Regions from separate parts of the Homo sapiens genome. Here region 1 is linked to region 2. The links are contacts of gene promoters, found by promoter capture Hi-C in human tissues and cell types (Jung and others, 2019). All regions are on one chromosome and are shown on one strand. Each heading gives the region's core, a stretch centred on a gene start or on the middle of the fragment in contact. The rest is flanking DNA. Distances are from core to core; before and after follow the strand shown.

Region 1 (3,018 bases), core at 57-2,556, 530 kb before region 2:
GTGTGCTGGGGTTGGTACCCGAGCGCCTTCCCCTCACCTCAACCAGAGAAGAGCATCCGGTTGCTTTTTAAAGCTTTTAGCCTGCCCTAGCAAGGACAAAGCATGTTAGATTAGAGATGCTTCTGCTGATCGCAGGGGTTCTTATTTGAAAACATCTATGATGGGGGTGGGGTGGGAGGAGACAGGTTGTGGTTATGCAGGAAAATCTTGTCCTAAAAATATATGAGTTTGGGGGTAAGGGGTGGGATAGCCAAGCAAAATCAGTAATTATTTTAAAATGAACATATGTATTTTTATTAACTTTTAGTTAAATACAGATTTTACAACGAGGTCAGCATAAGCCTAAATCTATATAGAGGGCTAACTCAGGCATTGTCTTGTTTATTTGTAGACTGGATTAAAAACAACCTGTCCTGTTTTGTCAGTTCCCAGCTTCTTCGTTTAGAATAAATTAGACCAAAAGAAGAAACGTGCTTGTCTCTGTATACCCGCAGAATGAAGTTACTGTTGTTAAAACTGGATTTTTTCATTTTACTAGGTTCCGAAGAGTCCAGATGCTTGGTAGATGTTCAATACGTGATTTTTTTTTTAATTGAATGTGTTCATTTAAAATCCTCCTTAACATTTCTAGAAAGACTTCTTTCAATAAATAATGGAATCTTAGAGGAAAAGTGGTTTTTTAAAAGCTAGGGAACTCCTCCACTAAAAGTAACCATTGGAAACCTCGAATGAGGGCTAAAGTTTTAATCATAAGAGAAAAGGCAGCATAATGAAATGTGTACACATACATAGTCAGTGGTCCATTTTAGGAAGCCAGTGGCGTCTGATAAAGAAATGTTAAGAGTAGTGAGGTTGAGGAAGGAAATTGTGGGGATTTGAAATATTCTCTTTATGTTGTTTCTCTTCTGAGTCATGGTAAAACAATAAATTATCATCTCTAGGTGGCAGTGCTTGTGCTGGTTTGTTTTTTGTTCTTTGTTTTTCTCATCCTTGGTTGCATAAATACACATTGGGGGTGAAGAAAAAAAAGTATTCCAAAGTTAAAAGACTGGAGCTGCAACCCACAAACAAAATTCTCATGCAAAACTATCTGTTTACTTTGCAAACCAAAATTAAATTTCAAAGGCCACCCAGTCACCTGAATGGACCTCTCCTCTCAGCCAAGGGCATTCCAAAGTTAACCTGAAAAACTAGTTCAGGCCATGATGGGAAGGGGGAGCCAAACATGCCTCATTATACCCTCTCCCCATATGGAATTACTGATAACAACAGACTCTTTAAGACTGATAGACATGGCCAGCCATGGTGGCTTATGCCTGTAATCCCTGCAGTTTGGGAGGCCGAGGCAGGCAGATCACCTGAGGCCAGGAGTTCGAAACCAGCCTGGCCAACATGGTGAAACCCCCTCTCTACTAAAAATACAAAAATTAACCAGGCGTGGTGGCGGGCGCCTGTAGTCCCAGCTACTCGGGAGGCTGAGCCAGGAGAATCACTTGAACCCAGGAGGGGGAGGTTGCAGTGAGCCGAGATCGCACCACTGCACTCCAGCTTGGGCAACAGAGTGAGACTTTGTCTCAAAAAAAAAAAAAAAAAAAAGGTGAACTGGGAGGATGTGAGGTTGTGTCCAGGAGGCATCCAAACACATCTCTGACTGTTTTTACTCACACTTCTGACACAATGTGGGATTTTTTTTCATACACCAACCAATTCTCTGGACACCAACTGGGTGCCATACGATTCAATTCAATTCTGACACTACCTGTAACTGATGCAGACTCCACAGGTTGTGGGCTCAGTCCCTCAAGACTGCCCCCATTTCAGACGCCAGTCTTACATTCCGGGTTTTCACCTGTGCTTTGGACCGGCTATAAATCAAGGGCTTCCACAATCTTCTCCTCAGTCTCAGGTTTGATAATTTGCTGGGATGGCTCATAGGTCTCATATATATTTTTATTATATATACACATGTGTATGTGTATATGTGTATAGATACACGTGTGTGTGTGTGTGTGTGTGTGTATACGAATACACCACCACACCCAGGTAATTTTTGGGTTTTTTTTTTTTTTTTTTTAGACGGAGTCTCGCTCTGTCTCCCAGGCTGGCGTGCAGTGGCGCCATCTCGGCTCACTGCAAGCTCCGCCTCCCGGGTTCCCGCCATTCTCTTGCCTCAGCCTCCCGAGTAGCTGGGACTACAGGCGCCCGCCACTGTGCCCGGCTAACTTTTTTTGTATGTTTTAGTAGAGACGGGGTTTCATAGTGTTAGCCAGGATGGTCTCGATCTCCTGACCTCATGATCTGCCTGCCTAGGCCTCCCAAAGTGCTGGGATTACAGGCGTGAGCCACCGCACCTGGCCTTTTTTGGGTATTTTTTGTAGTGACAGTCTGGCTATTTCCCAAGCTGGTCTTGAACTCTTGGGCTCAAGTGATCTGCCTGCCTTGGCCTCACAGGTGTGAGCCACCACACCCAGCCCTATTTTTTCTTAATAATTATTTTTTCTTTTATAGAGATGGGGGTCCCCCTATGTTGCCCAGGCTGGTCTCGAACTCCTGTCCTCAAGCAATCCTCCCACCTTGGCCTCCCAAAGTGCTGGGATTACAGGCGTGAGCCACTGTGCCCGACCCAGAACTGGATTTTATTTTTCTTTATTTTTGTAAGACAAGTCTCGTTCTGTTGCTCAGGCTGGAGTGCAGTGGCACGATTGTGGCTCACTGCAACCTCAACCTCCTGGACTCAAGCAATCCTCCTATTTCAGCCTCAGCTGGGACTACAGGCATGCATCACTACGCCTAGATTTTTTTTTAATTTTTTGCAGAGACAGGGTCTTGCTATGTTGCCCAGGCTGGTCTCAAATTCCTGGGCCTCAAGCAATCCTCCCACCTCAGCTTCCCGAAGTGCTGGGATTATATTCATGAGCCACCATGCAAGGGCCTAAAATCCAGTTTTAGCAAGAACCCTGCTAAGTTTAGCAAAAACCTCCCACCCTCCATATCTACTTAGGCTTTTTTCTTTTTCTT
Region 2 (3,105 bases), core at 45-2,544:
GCAAGCCTGGAGGCTGGGGTAAGGACAGGGAGGGGAAAGAGCTCTCACCTGCTGGGGGGCCTTGGACAGGTACAGGGGAACACGCTGCCCCCGGGGCAGCAGAGGGTCCGAGAGGAAGACATCTTCACAGCACACCACCGGGAACCCTAGGAGGAAACACCACTAGGGTGGCGGGCTGCGGGCTCCCACCCCTGGGCACTGGTTCCCAGAGGAGTTGGGGCAGCCTTGCGCCCCCGGGGGACCAAGGGAGGTACCTGCATCTGGGGGCGCCTGCTGTCCATTCCAGTGCCCTGTGGCAGGGGCCACGGGCCTGAGACCCCTGCCCGAGGCTGCTTCATACAGCGGCCAGAATGAGGGGTGACACAGCGTCCGGCCTGAGAACGAGGCTCCTGAGCTACAGTTGGCCCCCTAGGGTGAGGAGGACAGAGCACTGGAGCCTCAGGCCACCGCACAGCTCCCTGAGCACCCCAGCCAGTCCCACAGGTTTGCCCCCAACTCACCCACACCGGCCGAGGTCCTGCTTTGGCTTCATACTTGGGGTCCCAGGGCGCTAGTGGAGTCATCCTCGAGGGGGCCACCTCCCAGGCCACCTGGGGGGAACGGGGATCTGGGGGGACGCTTGGGGATTATAACAGGCTCACAGTCAGTGAGAGGCTCTTAGGGGTAGTAGAGGCAGCAGGGCCTGTCCTACCTGGGGCTCCGGGGGGCTGCTCAGTGGCCGGGCCTGGCAGGTGGTGGGGCAGCAGCAGCTGCTCTCTCCAGATCCAGGAAGGGCTACGGGATGGGGGCTGTGGGCTGGAGGGGCAGGGACTGAGGCTGCAGCCACACCGCCCCCACGCACCCTCCCCTGGAGCCCAAGGGTGCCTGGTGCAAGGGAGACCGAGGGACCCAATCTCCAGCAGGGACAATGGAGAAGCCTCCGTAGAGCGCGTGGTGAAGGCATGGAGGCCCCCAGTCGCTGTCCCCCCACGGCTCCGTCCGAGCCCCTCACCTGTCCCATGGGGGTGTCCCCAGCTCCCTGGGGGCGTCCGCTCCGGCGCTCCAGGGCTCGCCCTGGTCCTTGCCCGCCGGAAGGCCTGGTCCCTCGGGCGCCTCCTCCGGGCCCGCGCCCCACCGCGGCGGCGACCAGGGCAACATTCCGCGTTCCCGAGCGCAGGACGGTACCGCCGTGTCCCCGCCGCCCGGCCCGGCCCTCTCAGCCTCCCTCCGCGGCGCGGCGCGAACGTGCCCTCCTGGCGAACCCACCCCAGAGGCCTCGCGGCGACGCTGGCGCCCTGTGCGTCTCCCGGCCACGTGGCGCGTGCCCCCGCCGGGCTCCCGCGGGCGCCCCCTGGCGACTGGGCGGTGAATTCCGGAAACAGAGGCCCCCCCAACAACCCCGCGACGCACGTGCTCTCAGACACAGTTACACCTGAGGGCCACCCAGAGGGCTTCTGGCTTCTGTTTATTGCGGCTGACACGACACCTGCGACACCCGCGGTCCTTCCACCCAGACCCTCGACCCCAGAGGCAGCCAGGCCGGCAGGCCAAGGGTGCCCAGGCCCAGGCCACCCTCACCACGTGCTTCTCTGAGAGCGCGGAGCCCAGGCGCGTCTTCTGCTCCCGGGGTCCCGGGCGGGGTGGGCCCTGTGCCCCCACCTTCACCCCTAAGGCCGGTCCAGCAGGGCGTGGACGACAGCAGCGATGTAGGGGAGGCCCCTTCCCGGGGCCCCCTCCTCTTCCAGGATGTGGTGGGGCTGGCACAGTGACTCCTGGGGGAAGGGGCCGGGTTAGCTTCCCCACGGTGCCCCCTGCGGCTTCCGGCCTGTGGCAGGGGGTCGGGGGCAGACCCGAGCATCACCGTGCGCTCGGGGCTCGGCGACAAATGAGACGCAAGAAAGCTGTCAGCGATAACAGAAGGGAGGTGACACGGGGGGTTGGCGGACGCTCCGGGAGCATGAGAGGCCGGCATCTCAGGAGGGAGATGCTGGTGGGCACAGAGCCATGGCCACAGCCACCAACACGCGGAGCAGACGCGCGCGCGCGCGCACACACACACACACAGGCAGGGCGGCCACGGTCTGTACAGTTTATACACAGAGATAGGGACCCGGCCTGGGCCCCGAACCCCTACAAATATAGATCCTCTCTACAAAATAGAGATAATTTAGCCCCCCCATAGCAGCTGTTGGGGGGGGAAGGGGAGGGCACAGGAGGAAGGGGGAGACTCCAGCTCCTGCCACCCCTCACGGGGTACAGAGGGCAGGGGCAGGGCCGGCGGGGACATGAAGGCACCGTCAGCACTGAGAGGTGGGGACTCGTGGGGCTACTGGAGGGAGGCCAGAGGCTGGGGGCCCAGGGTCTGGGGGCACCAGAGTGGGGCCTCTGAGGTCAGTGTCTGTGAAGGGGGTGCACTAGTGTCTTTGGTTGGGGCTGAAGGCACCGCAGGTGGGGTCGGGTGGAGCAGGGACCTTATAAATAGAGAGGAAGGGAAAGGGGTGAGGGAGGGCCGATTTTGGGGCCTAGGAACCCAGGAGCCGAGTGTAGGTGACATAGAGCAGCAGCATGAGGACCACGTAGAAGACGACGAAGCCGCCCAGACCAGAGGGGGGCCAGAGGGGCGGTAGGGCCTTGCCCCCCACCCGCTTCACGGCCTCCAGCGCGGTCCGCAGCCCCCGGGCAGTGCCCTGGAGGAGATCCGAGGGCGAGCACAGGTCAGCCTGGGGGAGAGGAGAGCAGGTGGACAAGGACAAGGGACAGACGTCAGCAGCAGCAGCAGGACAGTCCCTCCCACCCCTGCCCTCACGTGCTGGGGCCAGAACCACGCCCACATGCTGACGTGCTGGGCAGGGGGAGTGCAGTGCAGGAGGAGTGCAGGGCAGGGCATGTGCAGGACAGGTGACATGCAGGACAAGATGGGGCCTGCAGGGCAGGGGATGTGTAGGACAGGTGACATGCAGGGCAGGGGGCATGCAGGGCAGGGGGCATGCTGGGCAGGGCAGGGGCAGCCTGTGCCTTCATCTGAGAGCAGACATCCGCTGCAAATGGAAGCCCACCATCCATGCCACATGCTCGGCTGAGTCCGGCATGCCACCACTCTTTAGAAAGCAGCCCCCATACCTCAGG

The links. The method cuts DNA at HindIII sites, captures the fragments that hold promoters and counts their contacts. A contact is called where the count stands out against the background at its distance.
Region 1: a fragment that was not itself captured here is called in contact with the fragment with the promoter of SAP25 in region 2 in 1 of the 25 tissues and cell types used here (spleen).

What each region holds. Positions count from the first base shown.
Region 1 is chr7:100,040,743-100,043,760 of GRCh38, forward strand. ZKSCAN1 (zinc finger with KRAB and SCAN domains 1) reads left to right here. Exons shown (of 6, transcript NM_003439.4): 6 at 1-947. Among named protein-coding and RNA genes, the nearest start is that of ZSCAN21, 7.5 kb to the right of the region's middle. The HindIII fragment of the contact is 5,629 bases long and covers 1-3,018 here.
Region 2 is chr7:100,572,606-100,575,710 of GRCh38, forward strand. It overlaps SAP25 (Sin3A associated protein 25), which reads right to left and starts at 1,295. Exons shown (of 6, transcript NM_001348680.2): 1 at 992-1,295; 2 at 692-795; 3 at 501-607; 4 at 255-408; 5 at 49-146. The coding sequence starts at 1,137. It overlaps LRCH4 (leucine rich repeats and calponin homology domain containing 4), which reads right to left. Exons shown (of 18, transcript NM_002319.5): 17 at 3,100-3,105; 18 at 1,406-2,699. The coding sequence ends at 2,502. RefSeq lists enhancers at 2,159-2,713, 2,714-3,105. The HindIII fragment of the contact is 26,041 bases long and covers 1-3,105 here.